Linked DNA regions of Homo sapiens: region 1 is linked to region 2. The links are contacts of gene promoters, found by promoter capture Hi-C in human tissues and cell types (Jung and others, 2019). All regions are on one chromosome and are shown on one strand. Each heading gives the region's core, a stretch centred on a gene start or on the middle of the fragment in contact. The rest is flanking DNA. Distances are from core to core; before and after follow the strand shown. Region 1 overlaps PCDHA1 (protocadherin alpha 1). Region 2 holds the start of PCDHAC2 (protocadherin alpha subfamily C, 2).

What was found. The method cuts DNA at HindIII sites, captures the fragments that hold promoters and counts their contacts. A contact is called where the count stands out against the background at its distance.
Region 1: a contact is called between a fragment that was not itself captured here and the fragment with the promoter of PCDHAC2 in region 2, in 1 of the 25 tissues and cell types used here (dorsolateral prefrontal cortex).

Annotation. Positions count from the first base shown.
Region 1 is chr5:141,000,771-141,008,284 of GRCh38, reverse strand. All of the region lies in intron 3 of PCDHA1 (protocadherin alpha 1), which reads right to left. The region is part of intron 3 of PCDHA2 (protocadherin alpha 2); the gene reads right to left. The region is part of intron 3 of PCDHA3 (protocadherin alpha 3); the gene reads right to left. All of the region lies in intron 3 of PCDHA4 (protocadherin alpha 4), which reads right to left. It also overlaps PCDHA5, PCDHA6, PCDHA7, PCDHA8, PCDHA9 and PCDHA10, and 7 more genes. Among named protein-coding and RNA genes, the nearest start is that of PCDHAC2, 38 kb to the right of the region's middle. RefSeq lists enhancers at 3,389-3,981, 5,170-5,763, 5,764-6,357, 6,358-6,952. The HindIII fragment of the contact is 3,954 bases long and covers 1-3,625 here.
Region 2 is chr5:140,964,261-140,971,412 of GRCh38, reverse strand. It overlaps PCDHAC2 (protocadherin alpha subfamily C, 2), which reads right to left and starts at 4,937. Exons shown (of 4, transcript NM_018899.6): 1 at 2,082-4,937. The coding sequence starts at 4,646. All of the region lies in intron 1 of PCDHA1 (protocadherin alpha 1), which reads right to left. The region is part of intron 1 of PCDHA2 (protocadherin alpha 2); the gene reads right to left. The region is part of intron 1 of PCDHA3 (protocadherin alpha 3); the gene reads right to left. It also overlaps PCDHA4, PCDHA5, PCDHA6, PCDHA7, PCDHA8 and PCDHA9, and 6 more genes. The HindIII fragment of the contact is 4,896 bases long and covers 1,714-6,609 here.

The DNA of each region.
Region 1 (7,514 bases), core at 399-2,898, 40 kb before region 2:
CTATTTCAATTTCCTATTACTTCTCAGTCTCCTCTAATTTGGTGTCCCTGAGCAGTAATTTTCTAACATAACTCATGTCAAGTTCATTATATTACTTCCACAATCAATGGTCACATTTTAGTCCTCATCTTATCAAACCTCTCAGCAGCATTTGTCATCCCCTTCTTGAAACACTTATTCTCATGAGTTCTTTGTCATGTAGAATAACCCCAATAAGTTCTTAGATGGACTGGACCCCTGTTACAAAAGGCAGATTAACAAGAAAAAAAAGGAAACAGAAGTTTATTAACATGTACATTTCATATATACATGACAGACACCCAGAGAATGAGCAGTTCTCAAAAAGGTGGCTTAGAATTCCAGCTTATATAGCATCTTCAACAAAGAACAATAAATTTTTAAAGAAGTGTAAGACAAAGGAAAAGACCTTTAAGGACTTTGAGTCTCTAATGGGTAGCTACTTGGGGGAAGGCAAATGAATGGCAGATAAAGGCTAATTTGTAAAGCAGTACCATTTCCAGGCCAATAAGAGTCCAAAGTTATCTTCAGTGGTTAACCTTTGTTCTCCCTGGTGGTGGGAGGCAGAGGAGGGAGGTGGAAGTAGGATAACTTTTGTCTTTGTAAATTTATGGTTTTTTAGGCAAATACAGGGAGGGCAGAAGACCTCTCCTATATCTGCTTCTTTTATTATTATCATGATTATTATTTTTTAAATTTGAGATAGAGCCTTGCTCTGTTGCCCAAGCTGGAGTGCAGTGGCGAGATATCAGCTCACTGCAGTCTCTGCCTCCTAGGTCCAAGTAATTCTCGTGCCTCAGCCTCCTGAGTAGCTGGGACTACAGGCACATGCCACCATGCCTGGCTAATTTTTTTTTTTTTTTTTTTTTTTGTATTTTAGTAGAGATGGTGTTCCATCATGTTGCCCAGGCTGGTCTCGAACTCCTGAGCTCAGGCAATCTGTCCACTTTAGCCTCCCAAAATGCTAAGATTACAGGCATGAGCCCACTGCACCCAGCCTGTATCTGCTTCTTTTAACTTGCCTTCAGCTCAACAATCCTTCTTATTTTGGGACAGCATATTCTGGCCCCCACCATCAAAACATTCTCCTGACCTTTCTCTCTGACTGTTCTTTGACAGTTTCCTTTGTCAGTCTCCTCATCTGTGTGTTGAAGCTTCCTTGGGTTTGGCCCTAGACTCTCTTCTCTATTTTCTCTTCACTCTCTCCTTTTGGGATCTCAGCCATATCCATAGATATAAATACCATATGAATAAGCTGATGAGATGCAGACTTATATTTTAAGCCCACATCTCTCTGTGCTCCAATCTCATGTATAACTGCCTATCTGGTATCCCCAGTTGGAAATCTCATGGGCATCCCAAACTGAAGAAATCTGAAATCAAACTCTTGATTCCTCGAATCTATTCCTTTCTAAATCTTTCCAGTTTCAGTAAATTACACCCCATTTACCCCATTTCTCAAGCCAGAAAGTTCAAAGCTAATTATTCATTTTTCTCTATTCTATTCTTCATTCTCCATTTATAATACATCATCAAGACCTGTCATTTCTGCCTCCTAAATATATCTTGACTCTGTCCTCTTCTCCCAATTTTCACTGCCACCACTCTTTCAGGACACCATCATCTCTTATATGAATTGCAGCAATAGTCTCCTTATTCAGTCTGCTTCCACTTTTGCTTCTCTCCAACCCTCCACACAGTAGCCAGAGTCATCTTTATTTCTTAATGTCTCTCTTTAAAAACTGATGTATAACAGCCAGGCGCGGTGGCTCACACATGTAATCCCAGCACTTTGGGAGGCCGAGACAGGCAGATCTCGAGGTCAGGAGATTGAGACCATCCTGGCTAACACAGTGAAACCGCGTCTCTACTAAAAAATAGAAAAAACTTAGCCGGGCGTGGTGGTGGGCGCCTATAGTCCCAGCTACTCAGGAGGCTGAGGCAGGAGAATGGCATGAACCCGGGAAGTGGAGCTTGCAGTGAGCTGAGATCGTGCCACTGCAGTCCAGCCTGGGCAACAGAGCAAGACTCCATCTAAAAATAAAAAATTTAAAAAAAAATGAGGCATAACATACATATAGCAAACTCTTTTAAAAATATAAATCAGATTATATCACTCCTCTGCTTAAGCTTTCTACTGCCTTGAGAAAAAAAAAAAAAACTCCTTACCATGATACATAAGTCCCTTCAATAATCTGATTTTTATTTCTTCTCCACTCTCATCTACAAATCTCCCTCTTACTATTATACTCCAACCATACAGGCCTTCTTTCAGATCCTCAAACACTCTTTGGAATTGTTTTTTTATTGTTGTTTGTTAGAGATAGGTTCTCACTCTGTCAACCAGGCTGAAGTGCAGTGGTGCAATCATTGCTTGATGTAACCTCAAACTCCTGGACTCAATCGACCCTCCTGTCTCAGCCTCCCAAGTGGCTGGGACTACAGGCCACCATACCTGGCTCCTTGGAGTTGTTTTTGCCTCAGGATCTTTACACATCTGGTTTGCTTTTGTCTTGAATGATTTCTCATCCATTCTTTTTTTTTTTTTTTTTTTTTTTTTTTTTTGAGACGGAGTTTCGCTCTGTCGCCCAGGCTGGAGTGCAGTGGCGCGATCTCGACTCACTGCAAGCTCCGCCTCCCGGGTTCACGCCATTCTCCTGCCTCAGCCTCCTGTGTAGCTGGGACTACAGGCACGCGCCACCATGCCCGGCTAATTTTTGTATTTTTAGTAGAGACGGGGTTTCACCGTGTTAGCCAGGATGGTCTCGATCTCCTGACCTCATGATCCGCCCGTCTCGGCCTCCCAAAGTGCTGGGATTACAGGCGTGAGCCTCTCATCCATTCTTAGCATGACTCCTCACTCTTCAAGTCTGTATTAAATGTAACCTCCTTGGAAAGGCATTCTATGACATTCCTAGCCAAGCAGCACCCCCTTGGCCTATTATTCTCTACCACTGTAAGATTCACAAAGGCAAAAAATGTATCTGTTTATTCACCAATGTATCACCAGTGCCTAGCACAATTCCTGGCCCATAACAGGTGTTTAGTAAATACTTGCTGGATGAATGAATGAAAGGACTGATGTGAGAAGTGAAAGTGGTACCCACTCTTTAGCAGACCAAACAACTCTCCAATGAGGCACTTTTGGGGTCCCTAAAGACAATGATGTAATGCATGTAAAGTACTAAGCTTGATCCTTAGCACAATGCAAGAATTCAGTAAATGGTATCACATATGGGCAATTATATATAATGCAGCTCTCAGGGCTTAGGAGACCAAGATAATGATACTGCAAATTTACAGCAGGCAGTGACGAGAGAGGGTAAGAAATTTTCTTCTCTCTTCCAAACCCTTTTCCTTACACCCTGGCAGAGCTGACACAATAGCACTTTAGGGATGAGAAACAAATTTTTTCTCTGAGACTAATGACTTTGATCTATCTAAGTTAATCAAATCTGCAATTGAGCTCAGCCAGAATCTGCCTGTTTACCTTTAAAATACAGGTCCTGTCTCTAAGAGACTGAGACAAAAGAGAGAAATGTATTTAAAAACCTCTGATTCGGCACCTAAAACTGGGTTTCAGCACCACTCCACAGTCCTTTAGTTGCCCTCAGAGCCCAAAATGGAAATTTTTCTTCAACCATAACCAGGACTCTGCATGAGGCCTAAGCACTGTCATCTGGAGATGCAGAACACAGAGATATGTTCATCTTGCACAGTTAAAGGACATTAATGGCTGTGTGTATTGGCAGAGGGAGCCCCTCACAGCAGGACTGCCAAGAGTTAATCCACTTTAACATGTCACTGAGCTTCCTGGTTCTATATGACTCAGCCTAAACTCCAGGAGGCAGAGATCTAGTCAGGTGCCTCCTCCACATGTCCAGCTTCCGCAGAGCAGAACAAGGTGTGGTCTCTCCAGTCCCTCACAGACCACTGTGCCTCACCTGTTCTGGTTGTTGTATAAAACAAACATCTCTGAGAGCTCAGCAGCATGTAGACTGTGACTCATTCCAGTAAAACAAAAGCTTAAGGATCTGACAAACACTGACTGACCTCCTAATCTGAATTCCTTTTGGTTAAGAGCACTCAAGACACTTGGCTGGCTTTGCCTATAAAATGTCATGCCTTTGGGGCAGAATCATGGAGATACTCCCTTTTGAAGAAGATGAAAACGGAAGAAGCACATTTCTACCCCTAACCCCAACCAGGGGCCAGTATCAGCAAATGATCAATCAAGGAAATGTTTCTTCTTTCAGTGCTGCCTCCTTTCCCTTCTAGGATCTCCGGCAAGTCCCCTCCCTTATGCTCCCAGGGTCCTAGCTCACCCTCAGGCAAAGACAAGACTGAGGATGCAGTCAAGACCCAAATGAATGGGCCTGTTAAGAGGCTAGAAGGAGGATTTCAGACACATATAAATCTGGTAGGGGTCTGAATCGTTAGGCAGAGCCCTTCCCAGACTACAGATTACAACCCAATAGGATTTAAAAGTTTATTTAACAGAATACGACCATAATTATACAAAATATGGTTTTGCTTTTTTATTGGATTAGCCGATATCTTCACAATTGGTAGGGATATATTTTAAAATCAGAACAACATATATTTTAATAAATGCATACAGATCTTCACTTCTACTTTAAAAACTGCCCTCTGGGGCCGGGAATGGTGGCTCACATCTAAAATCCCAGCACTTTGGGAGTCTGAGGCAGGTGGATCACTTGAAGCCAGGAGTTCAAGACCAGCCTAGGGAACATGGTGAAACCCCATCTCTACTAAAACTATAAAAATTAGCGAGACTGTGGTGGTGCACGCCTGTAATTTCATCTACTTGGGAGGCTGAGGCATAAGAATCACTCGAACCCGGGAGGCGGAGGTTTCAGTGAGCTGAGATTGCACCACTGCACTCCAGCCTGGGTGACAGAGCAAACAAACAAAAAACCCTGCCCTCTGGAAGTAGCTGGCCACTTCATGTAATCCTATAATCCAATTTGGGCACTTCCCTTAGGCACTGCCCAGGAATCTTTTTGGCAAAATTTCCAGCTTTCCTCTTTCATGCTAAACTAACCCTGGCTGCCTGAGTTGATGGAGTTGAGCCTCAGGGACTAGGATTGATCAGGTCAGAGTCTTTGCCAAGGCAAATGCCAGGAAAGGGCCAGAAGATTGTGAAGCAAATGCCAGGCCTGTTAAACTCACCCTCATCTGCATTTGGAACTGTTCTGTTAAGGCCAGGAGGGCTTTTCTGATTTACACTGACTTTCCCTAATAGAACATAAACTCATTTTGACCAAGGATACTATTTTCAGGAAAGCTCTCAGAGGGGCATGTGCTGGAGGGTGTTGGAGGGTGTTCACTTTTCTGATCTTCTCTTCATCTTGCTTTGTTCTCTTTCTGTTCTTGAGGACTTGCCCTGGTTCTCTCACTAGTGCATAGTCCTGGGCCATTTACATAAATATCTCTGAGCCTCAGTTTCCTCATCCATAAAATGGAGATGATCCCCTTCCTGTCTACATCACAGGGTTGTCGATGTAGTTAACATTTACTGTGCCCTTCCTATGTGTGTGCAACAGAGTTAAACAAATCTGCACGTCGTATAGGTTTTGGTCCTGACAAGAGCCCTATGAAGTAGACATTTCTAGTATCTCTGTCTGTGTTATGTGTCTGTTTTATAGATGAGGGGACTAAGGACTAATGGTCACATGGTCACTAACTGGTGGATCCTGGGACTCAAATCTAGGGAGTCTGACTCCAGCTAGGAGACTCAGATCCTGAGCTGTATAACAAGGTCATCCTTTGAAAATGCTAAAGCGTTATACAAATGTGCCAATTATTATGGTTATTGCCTGTTTTGTTACTACTATTTGGGAGGCACAGAGATGCCAGCAGGAGCCCTAAGCCAGAATGAGTTGAAAGGAGTGGAGGTGGGGGAAGGGGTGCGGATGCAGCCCGGCCTCCAGGTTTCGGCCCCGCCCCTTTGCTCCCCATTCATCCCTTTGTTACCAGCTCTGGGATTTCAGTGCTGAGGTTAATAAAGAGCTTCCAGAAAACCCATCATTTTGATTAAAGCCGGGGACTATCTTGCCAGACAGCACTCTGGAGCCTGCCTACCGCCCACTCTGCTAAGTCAGTGCAGCCGGCAAAGGCTATTAAATGATTATAGCCGTTTCCGGCCCAGCCCCTGGACTGCTCGTTCTTTGGCGCTGGCGGCTGCTGCTGCCTCTGGATGCCCAGGAAAGAGTCAGGGCACCGAAGGCTGTGCAGATTCTGTGTTTGCAAGTGAACTTCCAGGCTTTCCGCGCAGAGACACCCCGCCTCTCCCTCCTCCTTATTTCCGCTCACCACCCAAGTCAGCCACTGCAGTCTTTTTCAAACAGCCCCGATTTCTTTGCTCCTTCTTGGTTTTGGGCATCAATTTAATCAACCTCTCTCTCTGTCTCCCTCTCTGTCAGAATTTGGCCGATTGTAGAATGATAGTATATACTCAGGCTGACCAAAAGGCAAAAACCATCCGCCATCAACCACTGAAACAGCCCAGGTTGTAAAATATCTCAAGCTCCTTCCCCGCCCCCTATTTCGCCATCTGTGGGGTTTGTTGGACCGACTGGACAAGCTCCGCCTTCTCCCACACCTTCACCCCCAACCCCCGCCAGTCCTTTATGAATTGGGCAAACCTAATCTGAGTAATCACAGCCCACAAAACACAGGAGAATCGTGGTCTGAAACCCAAATCCTGTCCAGGATCAGAGAGAGAGGGAGAAAGCTAAGCCCACCTGGGCTAGCATTTCCAGCACTTCCCCGCTGCTGCTTAGTCCTTCAATTGACAGTGGAAAGACTTTTCCATGGAAACAAGGGAATGTAAAAATATACTCCCTGTTCTCTGTAGGATCTTAGGCTCTGTAATCAGAATAGTAGGCTTAAACCTGGCTACATCATGTAAATTATGGTGATGTTTGGCAAATTATTTCATATCTCTGGGCCTCAGTTTTCATCCGTAAAAAAAGTTCATAAGAGTGCCCGCCCCATAGGGTTGATTTATAGATTAAATGTAACTATCCTTATACAGCACATAGCATAAGTGCATGGTGCAAAGTAAAAACTCGTTAAATTTTACTTATTAAGATCAGAGCAACAGAAGATTCATTTGTTTAAGGACTATTGATTGCTTATTATGGATTAGACAGTTTATGGGGTATTTTGCATGTATTTAATTTTAAATGATTTAATTACAATTAATTAAAGCTATTATTATAAGTGTATATCTAAATACATATTTAAAGCATATTTATTTTATAAAAAAGGAATATGAAGGCTTAAATTACAGCAAGATAATTTGTCCTAAATCACACAGGATTTTTTTTTTTAGAGACAGCGTCTATATCTGTTGCCCAGGTTGGAGTACAATGGTGAGGTCATGGCTGACTGCCAGACTGGATCTCCTGGACTCAAGTGATCCTCCCACCTCAGCCTTCTGAGTAGCTAGGAATACAGGTGTGCGCCAC
Region 2 (7,152 bases), core at 3,688-6,187:
TCCAAAAGTGCCTGGCAGAAATTTGCCTTTATTAAAGTCATGCACTCTCCTGGCAAAATCTCCCAAAAGCAAGCACTTTCTGAAATAATTTTCTCCCTAGATTAAATGTTTGTGTACCAAAGTACATATTAATATACAGGTCAGTGTAAGACAGAAATAGTTTATGTATCAAATTGCCCCAAGCTTTGAGTCAGGAGAGGGAGGGTAACAGTGTCTTTCCTCTGAGCTTCCGGCTTACAGCTGGTGGCAAAGCTGAGCCTGGCCTGACTTGTTCATGCCTCTTCACCACCTGTAGCCCACCCCAATCCCAAAGGGCTTCACAAGAATTTGTTAAGCAAATGTCTACAGCAACCTTATTTAAAGCTAAACCCTTTTACGTGCTTTCAAATGCTACGATCTAAAGACTTCTGGAAACTCTTTGATTTATTCCCCCATTTTTCTTAATCTACAATCTGCCTCCCATGGTTTCTCAGCATTGACTAACACCAGGCACTTCTGATAAATGAATAAATCTATCTGAAATGTCCATGAGAAAAATCTACTCTCAATCAGGAATGGAACTTTTGTGCCTGTGCATTACATTCCTCAAGATTACCATGAACTTGAAATGTAACAATATGGATATTACATACAATATGTATGTACAGCAATATGTCAATGAAAATATATTGCAAAAAATAGAGGAGAGACAAATATTGTTCACACATTGTGTAGTAGCTCTAAAAGCCCTTTCTACAAAGTAGTTATTTGGAAAGATAACAATTCATCACTATTTATGGTACAAAATTTTGGCTTTTGAAATCCAAGTTTTAAGTATCACAAAGCATATCTCTGTTATTTCAAGCATACATATGGAGACGAACACACAACACAAACACACACACATATTCATCTACTTTCTAATAATTTATGTACATTCTTCATAATAATGAACAAGCTGGCCTTATACCTACTTAAATCTCAAAACTAGTGCATATACTAACACCTGCCTCTACACCTTACTGTAGGGTAAGCCATCCACTTTCCAAGCCAGCCTTTTGAAGCTATAGCAAATCAAATTTTAGATCCAGAAAATGAATGCATGCTTTGGAAGTACTGTCATTTAACTTAAAGACATGAAGGACTTGAAAAGGCTACTTTACATCTCATCAAAACCATAGAAACTGTCAACAGAAAATCAGAAGATTACAGGCTGCATTTAAGCTAAATTCAGGGAAATCCTCTTACAATGAATTCAGAGTATGCCAAGAAAGGTGACTATTGGGAGAATTCTTTTTCCCTTCTCTTCCTTCTAATCCCAGCTTCTCTTGGTCTTCACCATCCCCCCACACCCCTAATCCACTCATTCTAATACCTCCCTGGACCAACCAGACAAATTGGTACTTAATCTCTCTGCCTCACCATCATCCACTCCCTCTGACAGCCCTCTACAGAAGAGTTGCCACATCATACAGCCAAAGCAAACTTTAGCTTCAGTATGATGTCTAAATACTACAGCTTTATCACTTGTGACATGCATTTCCAGAGGATCCTATCACATAGGTTCAGTGCAAGTACCAGAAATATTAACTAGATAATTTCCACTGTAGACAGTCCAGAGTATAAACAGAGACAGCAGATAGTGGTGACTATGATAGCCCCTAGAGGCCTCAGAGCTTTTTAAGAAACATCACTCATATAGGATTTCAAAAGAAAAATTTCCCTGTAGATGATACAGCAGAGGCCATTTCTCCTTGAGTCTCATAACATTACTCCCTAAAACATAATCCCTATTCCAAGGCCTGTCCTGTTTCTCTACAAATCTGTGTTTTAGCATTAAATATTAAGACTAATCCTCACTTCTCAAACAATTTTATGGACAAGGCTTCATGCCTCTGAAAATGAAAAATAAAACAATTCTTTAGTGCTATTTTTCTAGAGAGGAAATAGCAGATTATGATCAAATTGTGGATACTATATATACTCAGTTTACCAGATAACTCTTGTCACTGTTAATGACTCAATAAAGCCAAATCACAGGATATTGGGGGATGTGTAACAAATGCATGAGTTTGTAGAAGACCCCCTGACCACTGTCTCACCTCATTTTGAGAAACAGCCTCATTTTTGAGAATAATCAGGTTCCCAGCATTCTGACCACTTTGGCCTGTGAGATTCCTGCTGTCAGTCACTGCTGCTTGGGCTCCCGAAGGCCCTGGTCCTGTCTGGGCCCCTGTATTGTAAAACATGAAAGTGTCACTCCCTGAGCCTGCTGTCAGACAGGCCTTGTAGCAGTAGGTCTTGGTGAGGGAGCCATTCCCTCGAACTTCAATGAAGTGAGGCTGCACTTTGAGGCCATGCGGTATCCTGGCATCAATATTGTTGTTGGCTTGTTTGTACAGTTCTGCAGGGGACCTTTCCCTTACTCCACAGAAGCCTCCACAGCATGCAGTGCCATACGCAGTGTAGCGGTAGCACTTGATGATGCTCAAAATGATGATTGTCAAAAGAAATATAAAAGACACTGTGCTTAATGCTATTATTAGATAAAGGGTAATTTCAGAGTATGTCCGAGGGCTCTTAACATGCCTCTGAGTGTCAGGGAGGATTTTGGAAACCCTATCCACCACAGCTACTGTAATGGCCACAGAGGCTGATAGTGATGGCTCTCCATTATCTCGGACCACCACGGTCAGGTTGAAAGTGCTACCACTCTCATCTCCCATCTTCCTGGTAGTCCTAATTTCTCCTGTGTGCAGCTCTACCTTAAAGAGGTCCAGGTCAGAAGTCTGGGCTAGATGGTAAAAAAGCCAAGCATTTTGCCCAGAGTCTGAGTCCATAGCTATGACTTTGGTGACCAGGTAGCCAGCAGGGGCAGTTCGAGGCACCATCTCGAAGGCTGCTGACGAGTTGGTTGAGGTAGGGTACAGAATGTGAGGGGCATGGTCATTCATGTCCACCACATATACGTTGGCAGTCACAGTGCTGCTCAGTGGTGGGCTCCCCTTGTCCTGAGCCTCCACAGTCACAAAGAACTCCCGAAACTTCTCATAGTCAAAGGAGTTGACAGCATAAAGGCTGCCACTGGCACTGTTAATGGAGACATAGGAGGTGACTGGCAGCCCTTGAATCTCCCTCTCCAGAAGGGAGTAGGTCACCTCTGCATTCTCCTTTTCATCTGGGTCTGTGGCTTGCACAGTACAGAGCAACACACCTGGCAAATTGTTCTCCTGTATGTAGATGGAATAGGAGTCCTCCAGGAAGCTTGGTGGATTGTCATTGATGTCAGAGATCTCAACCTTCAGTGTACGCAGGGATGTGAGCTGCGGTATTCCCCCATCTGTGGCTGTCACCGTGATGTTGTAGACAGCCACCCGCTCTCGGTCCAGTGGGCCGCTCACCACCAGTGTATAGGAGTTTCCAAAGCCATTCAGTCGGAAAGGCAGTGTGGCCTCCAGACCCAGGCTCACTTTCCGGTTGGGGCCTGAGTCTTGGTCATTGACACTGAGAACGGCCACAATGGTGTTGGGTGTAGCATTCTCAGGCACTGGGCTATACAGGTCCGTGAGCACCACCTCTGGGGCATTGTCATTCACGTCCACGATGTCCACCAGCACCTTGCAGTGACCTGCCATGGGCACTGGACCCCGGTCAGTCGCCTGCACATAGATCTGGTAGGAGGAGGCTTCCTCATAATCCAGCCCCCCAATTACTCGCACTTCCCCGGTACTGGCATCTATGCTGAAGAGCTGCCTCTCCCGGTCCGACGTGTAGCTGCTCAAGGAGTACCTGAGCTCACCATTGGAGCCCTCATCCGGGTCTGAGGCATTCAGCTTCACCACCAATGTGCCTGGGGGTGAGTCCTCCCGTAGCTGGACGCGATAAGTGGACTGGTCAAAGGCAGGAGAGTTGTCGTTAGTGTCCAGGACACGCACAGAGATCTGTGCCGTACCCGAGCGGGCTGGGATGCCCCCATCCACGGCTGTGAGAACCAGGTGGTGCAAGGCTGCCTGCTCCCGGTCTAGGCCCTTACGCAGCACCAGCTCAAGCACTTTACTGTTCTCCTGCAGGGGCTTAAGGTCCAGCTCGAAGTGCTCGCTGGGGCTGAGCTCGTAGGTCTGTACTGAGTTGGCGCCCACGTCGGGGTCCTGCGCACTCTCTATGTGAAAGCGCGCTCCAGGCGCCACCGATTCGCTTACCTGAAGCTGGTAGTTGGGCCGCGGGAAACGCGGTGAGTTGTCGTTGATGTCCAATATTTCCACCTCAACGGCGCTCACCGCCACGGGGTTGTGCGCCAGCACTTCCAAGCTGAGCAGGCAGCGAGGCCGCTGCTCACACAGCGCCTCCCGATCAATGCGCTCGTTGACGAAGAGCGCTCCACTCGTCAGGTCCAGCTCCAGGTAGCGCGGACTGGGCGCACCCAGATGGTTGATGCGCAAGCAACCCGGCCCCAAGCGCCGCAGCTCAAGCCCCAGCGCGCGAGCCACGTTGCCCACGAGCGCGCCGGGTGCCTGCTCCTCTGGCACAGAGTATCGCAGCTGGGAGGCCGCAGGGCCAGGTAGCAGCAGCAGCAACAGCAGCAGGAGAGGCAGTAGCAGCAGCCAGGGCATGGGCCGCCGGAGCCGTGGATGCTCTGTCGCCGCAGGTCTGGTGCCCGCCTGCTCCATAGCCACTGGCCGCGGCGGAGGCAGCCGGGCAGGGCCGGAGGCGGCAGCTTCCCCAGCCGTGCCCCACGCCCGGGCCCCGCCTCCGCTCGTGCCACCCTGCGCCTGCTCCCCCACCGCTCACGCTCTAGAAAGCGCCTGGGGCCGCTCCCTCCGTAGGCCCTCCCAAGGGCTCCTGGCCCCACCGTCCTCGCTGACTCCCCATATTCCAGCTCCTCCGCTCGCCTCCGAGTCGCTCAACCCGGCTCGGCTTCCTGCTGCTGCTGCCGCTACAGCTCCAGGGGGAGGGAAAAGGAAACAGAAGGGAAGACAGAGGGGGAGGGGGAAAGGGAGCGGTAGGAGGGCTCAGCAAGTCCTGCTCTGATTCCGCGCCGAAGTGGCGGACAGCGAACCCGGACTGCTCAGCCTCTCCAGCCCCATCTCCTTCACCCTGGACCTGCCGGATCCCAGCGGACCGCAGGAACACGGCCACTCCCTTTCTCCCTACCCCCACTGTCCAGTTCATCCAGTCTCCACCGTCTCTCCCCTGCTTAACGGGTCTTTAAGGAGATTAGTCTGGGAAAAGCAGTCAAGCCCCTAGAAGTCTGGCTATCAGCTCCCCAGGAAAAGATCTCCAAGCGCAATTCAGGAAAATAAACTGAGGGGCCTTAGCTAAGTATGGGCACCCAGGCGGCGGATCTAACATTAAAAGGAAACAACGCAGGGGGAGGCGCTCTGGGGTTACTGGCGATGGGAACTATTCACCTGACTCCCACATCTTCCCTGGACACTCTTAAGTACTGCAGAAAGTGCTCAACTCCTAGGGCAAAAGGAGGGGGATGGCAAATGCTGCCCTCTTTCCGGGAGCAAGCCTAAAACCAGCATCCTGGGATCCAAGACTCAATTCTGCTCTCGGCCAAGTGGCCCTTATTTTCAGTGTGTGCCTTGGCAAATAACCAATATTTAAATGTTTAAAATGCTCTGTTTAAAAAAATAGTCTCCATGAAGCTGTAGGCAAATCTATTATTTGACCCATTTTGGCGACAATGGGGAAAATCTGGTAAAATTTTTAAAGAGATTCTTCTCTCAAGCTTTTTCTAATCTTGCTTCAAATCTTTTACATTTATCACCCAAGACATTTTCTTTCAAGAGTAATTTAAAATTTTTTCTTTAATGGATGACAATGTCTTCAAGAGTCTGCAAAACCATTAAATCAAGAGCGTTACTGTTGATCTCCTAAGCCAGGCTGGAATTTGGATTCCATTAATGCTTTGCAGTTAAAAAAAAAAAAAAATCTGCTGTCATTAAGCAAAATGTGGGAGTCTGGGATTTATCTTACAATAACCAGCAATTTCAATGACTGCAGCTTATCTTCCTTAAATATAAGACTCCTTAGACTTCTGTTCTTCTGTGTCCCCAAGTTTCCTCTTGTACTGCTATAGAGGCAACACAGAGACAACAAATTCACTTCAGTAAAAGAGAAGGTAGAAGGATCAGAGGAAATCTTTCCATGCTGTGTCATTGCCTCTGCTGCTCAGTTCTGAATATTCACTCTTCCCAGGTTCTCACATTTCTTCCACAGGAATTTGAAATCTATTGCCTCATGTGCAAAAAAAGCACTCACTAAAACGTCCTTTCTCTTCATCTCCCAGTATTCTGTCATCTGTAGATCTTCCTCTATGGGTCATTTTCTAGCTATGGACTGGAACAAAGTCAGAGTGAGACCTGACATTTGGCATGCTTCCCTCCTAGAGCGGACAGTTAAAGGAGCCAAGGTTGTGATCCTGACACCCAGAATTCAAAGGCCTGAACTAGCACATCCCTTCGTTCCACCAACCAAGCACACTCACTATCAATGCTCCACTACCTAGCCAGTGTTATTCCAGAGAAGCGCCCAGCCTCCTATCACTGCTGCTTCTTATTTGTCCTCTTTGTTTCCTCAAGGGTACAGAGTAGGAAGCAATTTTCATCAAAATCTATTCCTGTCTCCTTTCTTGGGTCTCTGGCTTCTTCCTCTTCTCTCTGCATCCTCCCCAAACATCCCTACAATAATTCTGTCTCAGTTTGCTGTGGTAATTTGATCTCGGAGGCCTTAATCTCTCAAGTGCACAAATTGTGGACCTGGCCTGTGTCCTCACCCATTACTTGTTTCTGAAAATAAATGGCTTATAAGTGGAATCAAGTTGTAAGTTGTCATGAAAAGTGATCTTTCCTCCCCTTATCTCCTCCCAGCCCTCCAAGTCGCTGCCATCTCTGCACGCAGCTCAGAGACCTGGCCACTGGGTATTGACCAGGCATAGACCTGTGACTGTGAAAAAATCATAGGCACTTAAGGAAGAGATTACAGTGGCAGAGGCTTGGTAATTTTTTAATGGAAGCCCCCAAATGTCATGTCTTGGGAGAAAAACCAGGACTCTCCTTTCAGCACTCTTGTCATCTTCCAGCAAGGACACCTGCCAGGTTGTCCATTATGCTGTTTTAGGCCTTGTAGGTATTTAGCTCCAGCTAGAATTTACTGCCTTAATTATTA